Linked DNA regions of Homo sapiens: region 1 is linked to region 2. The links are contacts of gene promoters, found by promoter capture Hi-C in human tissues and cell types (Jung and others, 2019). All regions are on one chromosome and are shown on one strand. The core of a region is centred on a gene start or on the middle of the fragment in contact, and the rest is flanking DNA. Distances in the headings are between cores, read along the strand shown. Region 1 holds the start of CSRP3 (cysteine and glycine rich protein 3). Region 2 has its middle 20 kb from the start of NAV2-AS4.

The links. Contacts are between HindIII fragments. The study calls those that stand out against the background at their distance.
Region 1: a contact is called between the fragment with the promoter of CSRP3 here and a fragment that was not itself captured in region 2, in 1 of the 25 tissues and cell types used here (IMR-90 fibroblasts).

Annotation. Positions count from the first base shown.
Region 1 is chr11:19,200,706-19,205,698 of GRCh38, reverse strand. CSRP3 (cysteine and glycine rich protein 3) reads left to right here and starts at 3,716. Exons shown (of 6, transcript NM_003476.5): 1 at 3,716-3,745. The region is part of intron 1 of CSRP3-AS1 (CSRP3 and E2F8 antisense RNA 1); the gene reads right to left. The HindIII fragment of the contact is 17,209 bases long and covers 1-4,640 here.
Region 2 is chr11:19,541,709-19,546,328 of GRCh38, reverse strand. It overlaps a transcript of NAV2 not described here. Among named protein-coding and RNA genes, the nearest start is that of NAV2-AS4, 20 kb to the right of the region's middle. The HindIII fragment of the contact is 3,031 bases long and covers 970-4,000 here.

The DNA.
Region 1 (4,993 bases), core at 2,467-4,966, 340 kb after region 2:
GTTGCTGGAATTGTGCAAAAATAAGTTTCTGTTGTTTAAACCAGCCTGTCTATGGCATTTGTTACATTATGTGATAATTCAGTAAGTTTACAGCAGACTCTCTCAATGAATTCATCGAGAATGATTTACCTCACACACACACACACACACACACACACACACACATGCACACACACAGAATTAAAAATGTAAGGTACAAAAAGTAAATAAAGAACAGTAATTGGGAGGCTGAGTTGGTTGGATCACCTGAGGTCAGGAGTTCGACATCAGCCTGGCCAACACGGTGAAACCCCGTTTCTACTAAAAATACAAAAATTAGCCAGGCATGGTGGTGGGCACCTGTAACCCCAGCTACTTGGGAGGCTGAGGCAGGAGAATCACTTGAACCCAGGAGGCAGAGGTTGCAGTGAGCTGAGACTGCGCCACTGCACTCCAGCCTGGGTGACAAGAGCAAAACTCCATCTCAAAAAACAAACAACAACAATAACAAAACAGTAATTGAGTGAAGAAAGCACTAAAATTTATCATTAGGTTTAAGTAAGTACTAACCCATAATGAACAAAACTAATTACAATCCAAAACTGAAACTACACATCATGTTGTGGGGAGGTGTGTAAAGGCAAGTTCAGAATGTGCAAAGAGGGCAAGACGTGACGGTCAAAGTGCAGCATTCATTTCAAGCAAGGAAGCTCCTTTTATTTTTTAATGCTTAATTATAACTTTATTTTTTCCTTTGTTCTCCTAAAAAAATAAAACGGGATACATGTGCAGAGTGTGCAGGTTTGTTACATAGGCATACGTGTGCCACGGTGGTTTCTGCACCTATTGATCCATCCTCTAAGTTCCCTCTCCTCACCCATCCCCCACCCCACAGCAGGCCCTGGGGTGTGTTGTTCCCCTCTCTGTGTCCATGTGTTCTCATTGTTCAACTCCAACTTATGCATGGAAGCTCCTCTTTATTTATTTATTTATTTATTTATTTATTTATTTATTATGCTTTAAGTTTTAGGGCACATGTGCACAATGTGCAGGTTAGCTACATATGTATGCATGTGCCATGTTGGTGTGCTGCACCCATTAACTCGTCATTTAGCATTAGGTATATCTCCTAATGCTATCCCTACCCCCCCCCCCCCACCCCACAACAGGCCCCGGTGTGTGAGTTCCACTTCCTTGTCCATGTGTTGTCATTGTTCAATTCCCACCTATGAGTGAGAACATGCGGTGTTTGGTTTTTTGTCCTTGTGATAGTTTGCTGAGAATGATGGTTTCCAGCTTCATCCATGTCCCTATAAAGGACATGAACTCATCATTTTTTATGGCTGCATAGTATTCCATGGTGTATATGTGCCACATTTTCTTAATCCAGTCTATCATTGTTGGGCATTTGGGTTGGTTCCAAGTCTTTGCTATTGTGAATAGTGCCACAGTAAACATAAGTGTGCATGTGTCTTTATAGCAGCATGATTTATAATCCTTTGGGTATATACCCAGTAATGGGATGGCTGGGTCAAATGGTATTTCTAGTTCTAGATCCCTGAGGAATCACCACACTGACTTCCACAATGGTTGAACTAGTTTACAGTCCCACCAACAGTGTAAAAGTGTTCCTATTTCTCCACATCCTCTCCAGCAACTGTTTCCTGACTTTTTAATGATCGCCATTCTAACTGGTGTGAGATGGTATCTCATCGTGGTTTTGATTTGCATTTCTCAGACCTAAAACCATAAAAACCCTAGAAGAAAACCTAGGCAATACCATTCAGGACATAGGCATGGGCAAGGACTTCATGTCTAAAACACCAAAAGCAATGGCAACAAAACCAAAATTGACAAATGGGATCTAATTAAACTAAAGAGCTTCTGCACAGCAAAAGAAACTACCATCAGAGTGAACAGGCAACCTACAAAAATGGGAGAAAATTTTTGCAATCTACTCATCTGACAAAGGGCTAATATCCAGAATCTACAATGAACTCAAACAAATTTACAAGAAAAAAAAACAGACAACCCCATCAACAAGTGGGCGAAGGATAGGAACAGACACTTCTCAAAAGAAGACATTTATGCAGCCAAAAGACACATGAAAAAATGCTCATCATCACTGGAAGCTCCTCTTTTATCTGCTTTATATACTGATTTTCCTCTTATCTACAGAAAAAAGTATTCTGATGCAAACACACACACAAAAAAAATTTTAAAGCTACTATTGGTTGACCAGTTTCAGTGACTCAAGCCTGTAATCTCAGCACATTGAGAGGCCGAGGTGGGCAGATCACTTGACCCCAAAGTTTGAGACCAGCCTAGGCAAAATGGTGAAACCACATCCCTACAAAAAAATTAGCCAGGCGTGCTGGTGTGCGCCTATAGTCCCAGCTACTCAGGAGGCTGAGACAGGAGGATTGCTTGAGCCCAAAAGATCGAGGCTGCAGTGAGCTGTGATCATGCCACTGTACTCCAGCTTAGGCAACAGAACGGGACCATTTCTCTAAACAAACAAACAAACAAACAAACAAAAGCCACTATCCTAGACGATTTCTAAAGTCCTTTCTAGCTTTAACTTTCTAAAATCCTCGTGATTGCCTCGTCTTTATGATGAAGATGCCATTTAGTGAAAACACAGACCACGGATATCTCATAGGAGGCTATGCCACGGCCGTCTTTGTGAAATTACTGCAACCTTCTTGACAGTGAAATATTCTATCCTTCAACAATTGCTTTGTGGGCAGGTAACCAAAGGGCTAATATCTGATGTGAAGGCTGGATCATGAACCTCCCGGTTGGGTTCTACATGTACCTTACCTCAACATCCGGGTCAACATGAGTGGAAGGGGCTTGGTGCCTCAGTTTCCTCATCTATAACATGAAGAATTGGTCTTCACATCTCTGAACCTCTTGTCAGCTTTTCAATGCCATAATTTATATCAGTCCCTGGTGCTTGATCAAATTTAAACGGTGTGAATTCCAGACAAAGAAAAATTAGACCTCCAAAGAAAATATGGGTCTACAGAGACATATCAAGATGTTATAAATATAATGTGATGATGATAAATATGCACTGCTGTATCAAATTCTTAAATAGAAAAGGATAATAACAAAGTAAATCAAAACTTTTTAGAGAAAACTTCGTTTCCTAGGATAGATGGAGTGACAGGTCCCAAGTGATGTGCCAACCTTTTTTCTCCCAAGCTTCTTTGAAGAGATTATCTAAGTATCGTTTCAGACACCCATCACCCTTATTTTTAGCTCTGAGTTCTCTTCACGAGTGTGGTGACCTGTGGCTCTAAGTTCCAGAGGCTCCCAGATATGGCACATGACTCATTTGCAGGTACCCTGCAATGATTTCCAGGAAGGTCAGTGGGGTGGGGGCCTGGAGAAATGATTTTTGATGTTAAACCCTTAGCTCTTGTTCCTGTTCCAACCACTTGATCAGAAATGACACACTTCATAAATTGATCCCTTGGTGCCATAAGCAATTGGCAGTGCAAATAGAACCCAAGTGATTCGGTTCTCCAAGAGGCTCACAGCTGGCTGGGGGGTTGGGGGAGACAAAACTCAGGGCTTTGGTCACAGTCTATTTTCAGCCCCTGATAGCAGTTGTGTTACTCACGTCTCATTCACCCTCTCCCTTGGCCTCCCTCCTGCCCTTCCCCCAGCAGGCCAAGGCTGGTGACAGCCTTCATATATTTAAAGAGGACAAGAGCCCCTCAGACTCAGTTGAGCTGAACGGAGTCCACACAGGCAGGTGAGTGGAGCAAGGCAGACATTTGAGCTGGAGGTGGGTTGGTTCTGTGGCTGGTTTGGACTATAAAGGGTCCCATAGAGTAAGAGCACATTTTACGTCTCAAGTGCCAGCACCCTCTCTGGTTCTGTGCAAGGAGGCTCAAGTTGTACTTGACTCTGGTGTGGATCTAGCAGGTATTAAAAAATTCCTGCAAGGATGGTTAATATTTAGGGGGCTTAAGGGACCTCATAGGCAGATAAATGAGTAAAGAATTATCCTCATTATAAAACTACTTACGTGGTGGAATTACATTTCCTGTCATCTTAGTTGGAACAACTGGAAAGCGGGAGGAAATAATGGAAAGTCTGCTGACCTTCTCGTCTTACAACCACCATATAATTCATGGATGACAGACTTTGAGAAGGTTCCTGCCCTCAGGGGCTTGGTCTCCTCTTCTGCAAGGATCAATACAAATTGGCGACATTTTTTCCAAACTGTAAAGTACTGCACAGATACAAAGCGATAAGCGATTGTACTAGATGCAATATATAAGACAGCTTTCCCATGCTCAATTTACCTGGAATGGTGTTATTCAAAAGGTCGTGGTGAATGACTGAGATTTTGGGCTTGTTGATTTTAAATAGACTTTTGTATCCCAAAGATATTCAGCAACAAGTTTGCTTTTAATCTTTTGAAATTAATCAAAACTGGACCCCAAAAAGACATTGCTATGTTGAAATATATTAAAAGCTCTATTAAATGGGAGGATAATTTATCCAGTGGTTAGGATTCCCACTGTTTCCTCTAGGTTTTAGTCAAGGACTTTTTAAAATATCCCAGTGAATGACAGACATAGGTGTGATTGAGAATAAGAAGAGGTTTTAAGCAATGGTCTGAGTGGAAATGCTGCTGAAAGATCCAAGCTGCCGACTCTAATTTCTGCCCTGTTCCTGAGCCAAGGTGGTGACTCCTCCAAGAAGGAGGAGTTGAGTTACTGGTCTGAGGAACCTTGTCTCTGCAATACGATTCAATGTAATTTAATAAGCATGTATGGACCATCTCCTATGTCAGGGCTGGAGGGAGGTAGAGGCAGCTCTATGCAGGGAAGGGTATAAGTGAACAGCACGAAGAGTGGGAAATTGGGGATGGCCTGTGTCCTCAGTTTACATCTGGGATTAAATCTCAATGCTGGGTACATACAATTCATCACAATGCATGTAGAACTGCTTTATGATCCAGAAAATGTGAGGGAGTCTTATGACTTGGCTT
Region 2 (4,620 bases), core at 1,236-3,735:
CTCAGCAAGATCTCAGTTACAAGGCAGCCAGGGTTGAGAGAGGGAATCTCTGAGCTGGGGTTCAAGTCTCCTCTGCCATCTGCTCTTCAGAAATCCATCAGGCCTTGCTCGAGACCCCACATCAAGCCCTCATGGGGAGGAGATGTCTTTTCAAGAAAATATCTACATACTTGTCTCCTATGCCTGTTTGAGCACAGTTTGGTGTGGTTTCCTGGAGAATGACTCTGCTTGGTTTTAAAATTGAGCTCCATGAAATTCTAGGGTTCCCTGGAAGCATCTGAGGGAAATTTCATCAGTGGAGGAAGAGACCCCCTACCCCAACCTACTTGGAACAGTTCTGCTTTCATTTAGATTAGATTATAGACTCTGCAATTATAACTGCATATAATACAAACTACAATACAATACAAATACCAAAAAGTTCTGCTTAAAAGGCTGAAGATTCTTAGGTCAGGGTTGTCCAATCTTTTGGCTTCCCTGGGCCACATTGGAAGAAGAAGCATTGTCTTGGGCCACACATAAAATACACTAACACTAACAATAGCTGATGAGCTAAAAAAAAACCTGCAAAAAAAATCCCAAAGTGTTTTCAGAAAGTTTAAGAATTTGTGTTGGGCTGCATTTAAAGCCACCCTGGGCCGCGGGTTGGACAAGCTCGTCTTAGGAGATTTCCCTAGTGCTTAGTTTTCTTACTATTTCACCAAGTGTTTAGTACCCTCTAGGAAATAAAATGCACTACCACTTTCCTGATTCAGTCTACTCACTCCAAGCTACATTGTCTGATGAGAAACTGACTCCCATTTGCGCCATGCCAGCCCTTTAAGTGAATGAGGCTTCCAGGCAAGCTTTCCACCTCAAAGGGACACCACTGCCCCATACCTTCTTCCTTTCACCATCCACCTGGCAGTCTTCCCACAGGAAGGGAGCCGTCCTTAGAGGCCACATGCAGACAAATATCAGTCTCTAAACCAAAGAGGCTTGGAGGAAAAAAGACAGAGAGCACACATGTCATGAATAATTCAGTTGGCTGCCCGGCCCAAACCAAGCTCCCCTGGAGGCAGTATGGAGACACAAATCTGCCCACCTTATGAAGCTTACAGCAGTTGCCAGTTAGGTCTGGGTAGCAGCTTGACCCTCCTGTGAGCGCCCAATAATAAATGCCCACACTGGCGTGGAGGGCTGTGGTGTGCAGCAGGTACACAAGAAATGAATGAGAACTGCAAGGCCAGAACGACTTCATGGGAGGGAAAGGGTCTTTGATTAAGGCAACTGCTCAACTCCAATGTACATTTGCTTTGCTGTCTCTGGGGCTGAAAGCAGGGTAGAGAGGTGGAGAGTGGGACATTTACTTTGGCCCAACCATCTGCTAGGTGTTCCACATGTGTGGAGCCAAGACACAGACACCCTAGCAACATTTTGGTGAGGCAGGTACTACGATTCTCATTCCTTTGCTTTACTCTCTCTCAAGGAAATTAGGCTGACAGACAGTTTGGAAGATTTGCCAGCAATCTTAACAGCTAGGAAGTGGCAGGGGCAGGCTCACCTCCAGCCCTAGCTGGCTCCAAAGCTGGGGCTCGTTCTTTTATGTCCCTAATTCCCTTCTTACTTTCCATGCTTTCTGTGCACTGTGTCTAGCAGGATAAGGTGGCCAGGTAAGCAGCCAGGGGGTGAGGAACTGGGAAGAGGCTGCACAGTACACCCTGTTTCTTCCAGAGGATGAATTCTGTACCCCACTCCAAGCTGTCAACATAGACAGGTGTTCAAGGGTGGAATGTGGCCCAGCTAATCCCTGCCTGACTTTAATTTCCCATGTGTGGAATATGGACTCCAGGGAGGCAGAATCCAGGAGGCAGAAGCTCAGGCCTTGATGCCTACTCAGATCTCTAGATGCCAAACTCTACTAACTGGGGTACTGACCAGTAAGCCTTGGGGATGTGAGATCTGAACCTGATCTTTATGGTGGCCTCAGTCTACACTGTCACCCTTGAAACCTGTGTCTGTCTTACAGCACGGATCCCATTCTGCTGGTATTGGAAAGACTGATAGTGAAAAGAACTCGAGATTAGAGTCAAGAGAGTCTAGGACCAAAGTCCATCTCGTTCTCATTCTCCTTCAATCACTCGGTTTTGATGGAAATCAACTCTGCCAACATAATTGCTATTTCAAAGAAATATTCATTCATACACTCAATAATTTTTTAGCAATCCAAGATGTATTGAGCACTTACTATGTGCCAGGCACAGTATTGAGAACCACAAACCCATAAGATGCTCAATAATATTATTTGAATGAATACAGTGCAAATCATGTTGTAGTAAGTATATATTCACAAGCTTTGGCCAGGAAGAGCAAAATAAGTAGTTTACATTTGAACAATACTTTTCACAAGGCTACAGAGTACACTCACATTCATTGTAATAATTGATGGATTATCCTCAGCTCAAACCGAGAGCATGGCCACTCTAGAAATACTTGGGGAGCTATAAGAGGAAGAGGAGGAGGTGACAAATAGTATTTGATGCAGTTGAGAGGTCAGCCTCAGAGTTAGCCAAGTGAGACAAGAGAGGACAAGGAAGAGAAAGAGAAGTAACTTTTGAACACCTGCTATGAGTATCTCATTTAACGCTGAATGATCCTATGAAGGGAGGTAGGTATTTTCACTCCTTTTTTATAGACAAAGGAAGGCAAGCTCATAGAGGGTAGCTATCTTGGATAAAGTTACACAGTCAAAAATGGCAAAATATCTGACTCCAAATTGAACGTTTTTTAATCCCTATGCCATTCTGAACCTTTCCCAAAAGAGGAAGATGAGGAGGAGAGGCTGTGTCAGTGAGATAAGGTGAGATTTGGTGCGATAAAAGAAAAAGAATAGATACAGGACCACGCAAACAAACACAAAAAGCCCAGTGACATTTCACTGATGATAGCAATGATTACTGTTACGTTGGTTGACAGCATGCATCATCGGCAGTTCAAGCCCTAGTTCCTGGAACTTCATAGATATATTTTGAAAGGACTTTCAGCAGGAAGCCCAAACTTCCAAAAGAGGAAGACTGACTACCATACCAGGCAGTCATTTTTATCTCTACTTTATAGACAAGGAAACTGAGCTTCTACGAGGTTAATCAATTTGCTTTAAGTCACCCATATCGGAAATGGCAGAGCAGGGATTTGAACCCAGGGCTTTCTGACCTTCAAATTTATATTGCTTTTTATGGCCCTATCTTAAAGATGACCAAGGATGGGTGAAGGAACTCTTAGAATCTCAGAATTTGGAAAAGATAATAAACTTTCTCTAATCAGGCAGTTCTCACACTTAGGTGATTGGACCCATGCTCAACCAGTGACATGGAAACCTTATTAAAGGGAAACGGGCTTCATCCCTGATCAGGGAACCTGCCTTCTCCTCTGTGGTCCTGGTGGCAGGAGAGGTACCCAGGAAGGGGAGGGTTTCAGGTGAAGGGGAGAGCAAGGTGGTGCTCACAGTCTGAGTCAGGCGGACCTCCTGGCTCTTGCCTTCTAGCTCAAGACCTTTGACAAACTTCCATGTTTCCTGAATCTCAGTTTTCTCACCTGTAGAATATTTTATAGGCAGCACTTAGAGATATTAATTGAGTATGTGTTTAGGGTCAAAATGACCTGGATTAGAGTAACAGCTCTGCTTATGACCTTCGATGAATTAAAACCTCTGGACATTTGGGGTCCTCATCTCTAAAATGAGCATAATAAAATCTACTTCATGACTTGTTACAATGAAGTGAGACAGTATATATGGAACCCCTCAGTATAGAACCTGACCCCTAGTAAATACTCCACAAATGTTAGCTATTCTTACTCTGGGCAGCGGAGCAAAGTGCTTAAGAGCTCGGGCTCTGGAGTGATCCTTCCTCAATTCACTGACTCCATCATTTACTGCCTTGGGGCCATGAACAAATTCCTTAAACCCTCTATGACTTGTTTCACTCATTCTGAGAAATGGGGATAATCGTATTATAGTATCTACCCTAGAGGGTTATTATGAAGATTAAATAAGATAGGCATGGAAGATGCCTAGCATAGTGTCTGGCAGGTGGTGAGTGTTCCTTAAAGGGTACCCATTATTAGCTCCATATGGGATCAAACTTGCCAAGAATTGGACAACAGCAGTCAGGTCTGCACAGTGAGAGAGTGAGCTCCCCGTCTGTGGCTGTGCTGGGCCAGAGGCTAAAAGACCATCTGTTAAGGGTGGGTGGAAGGGATTCCCATATGAGGTCAATGGTGGGCTTTGCCGACCTCTAAGACTCTAACTGTCTTTTCCGTGCTGTGACTCTCAGTGTGAATTAGTAGAGAAGACACTGACTCATCAGTGCAGCAAATCAAAAGTGGAAAAATTACTTTCTAGCTTAGTTTTAAAAATCAAAGCCCCTTTCCAGCCAAAGGCAATTACAGACTGATCCACAGTAAGGCAAGGCATATTTCAATTGAAAAATGGCATCTTCCTAGTCATTGCCATATGGAGCCAGGACACCAGGTGGCCCAGGGCTGAGACCAATCACAGGGTCCAATTGGAACTAAATAAAATGACCCCCTGGAGGAAATGGCTCCAGCGAGGCCCACAAATCCCCATGACATGTCATTTTG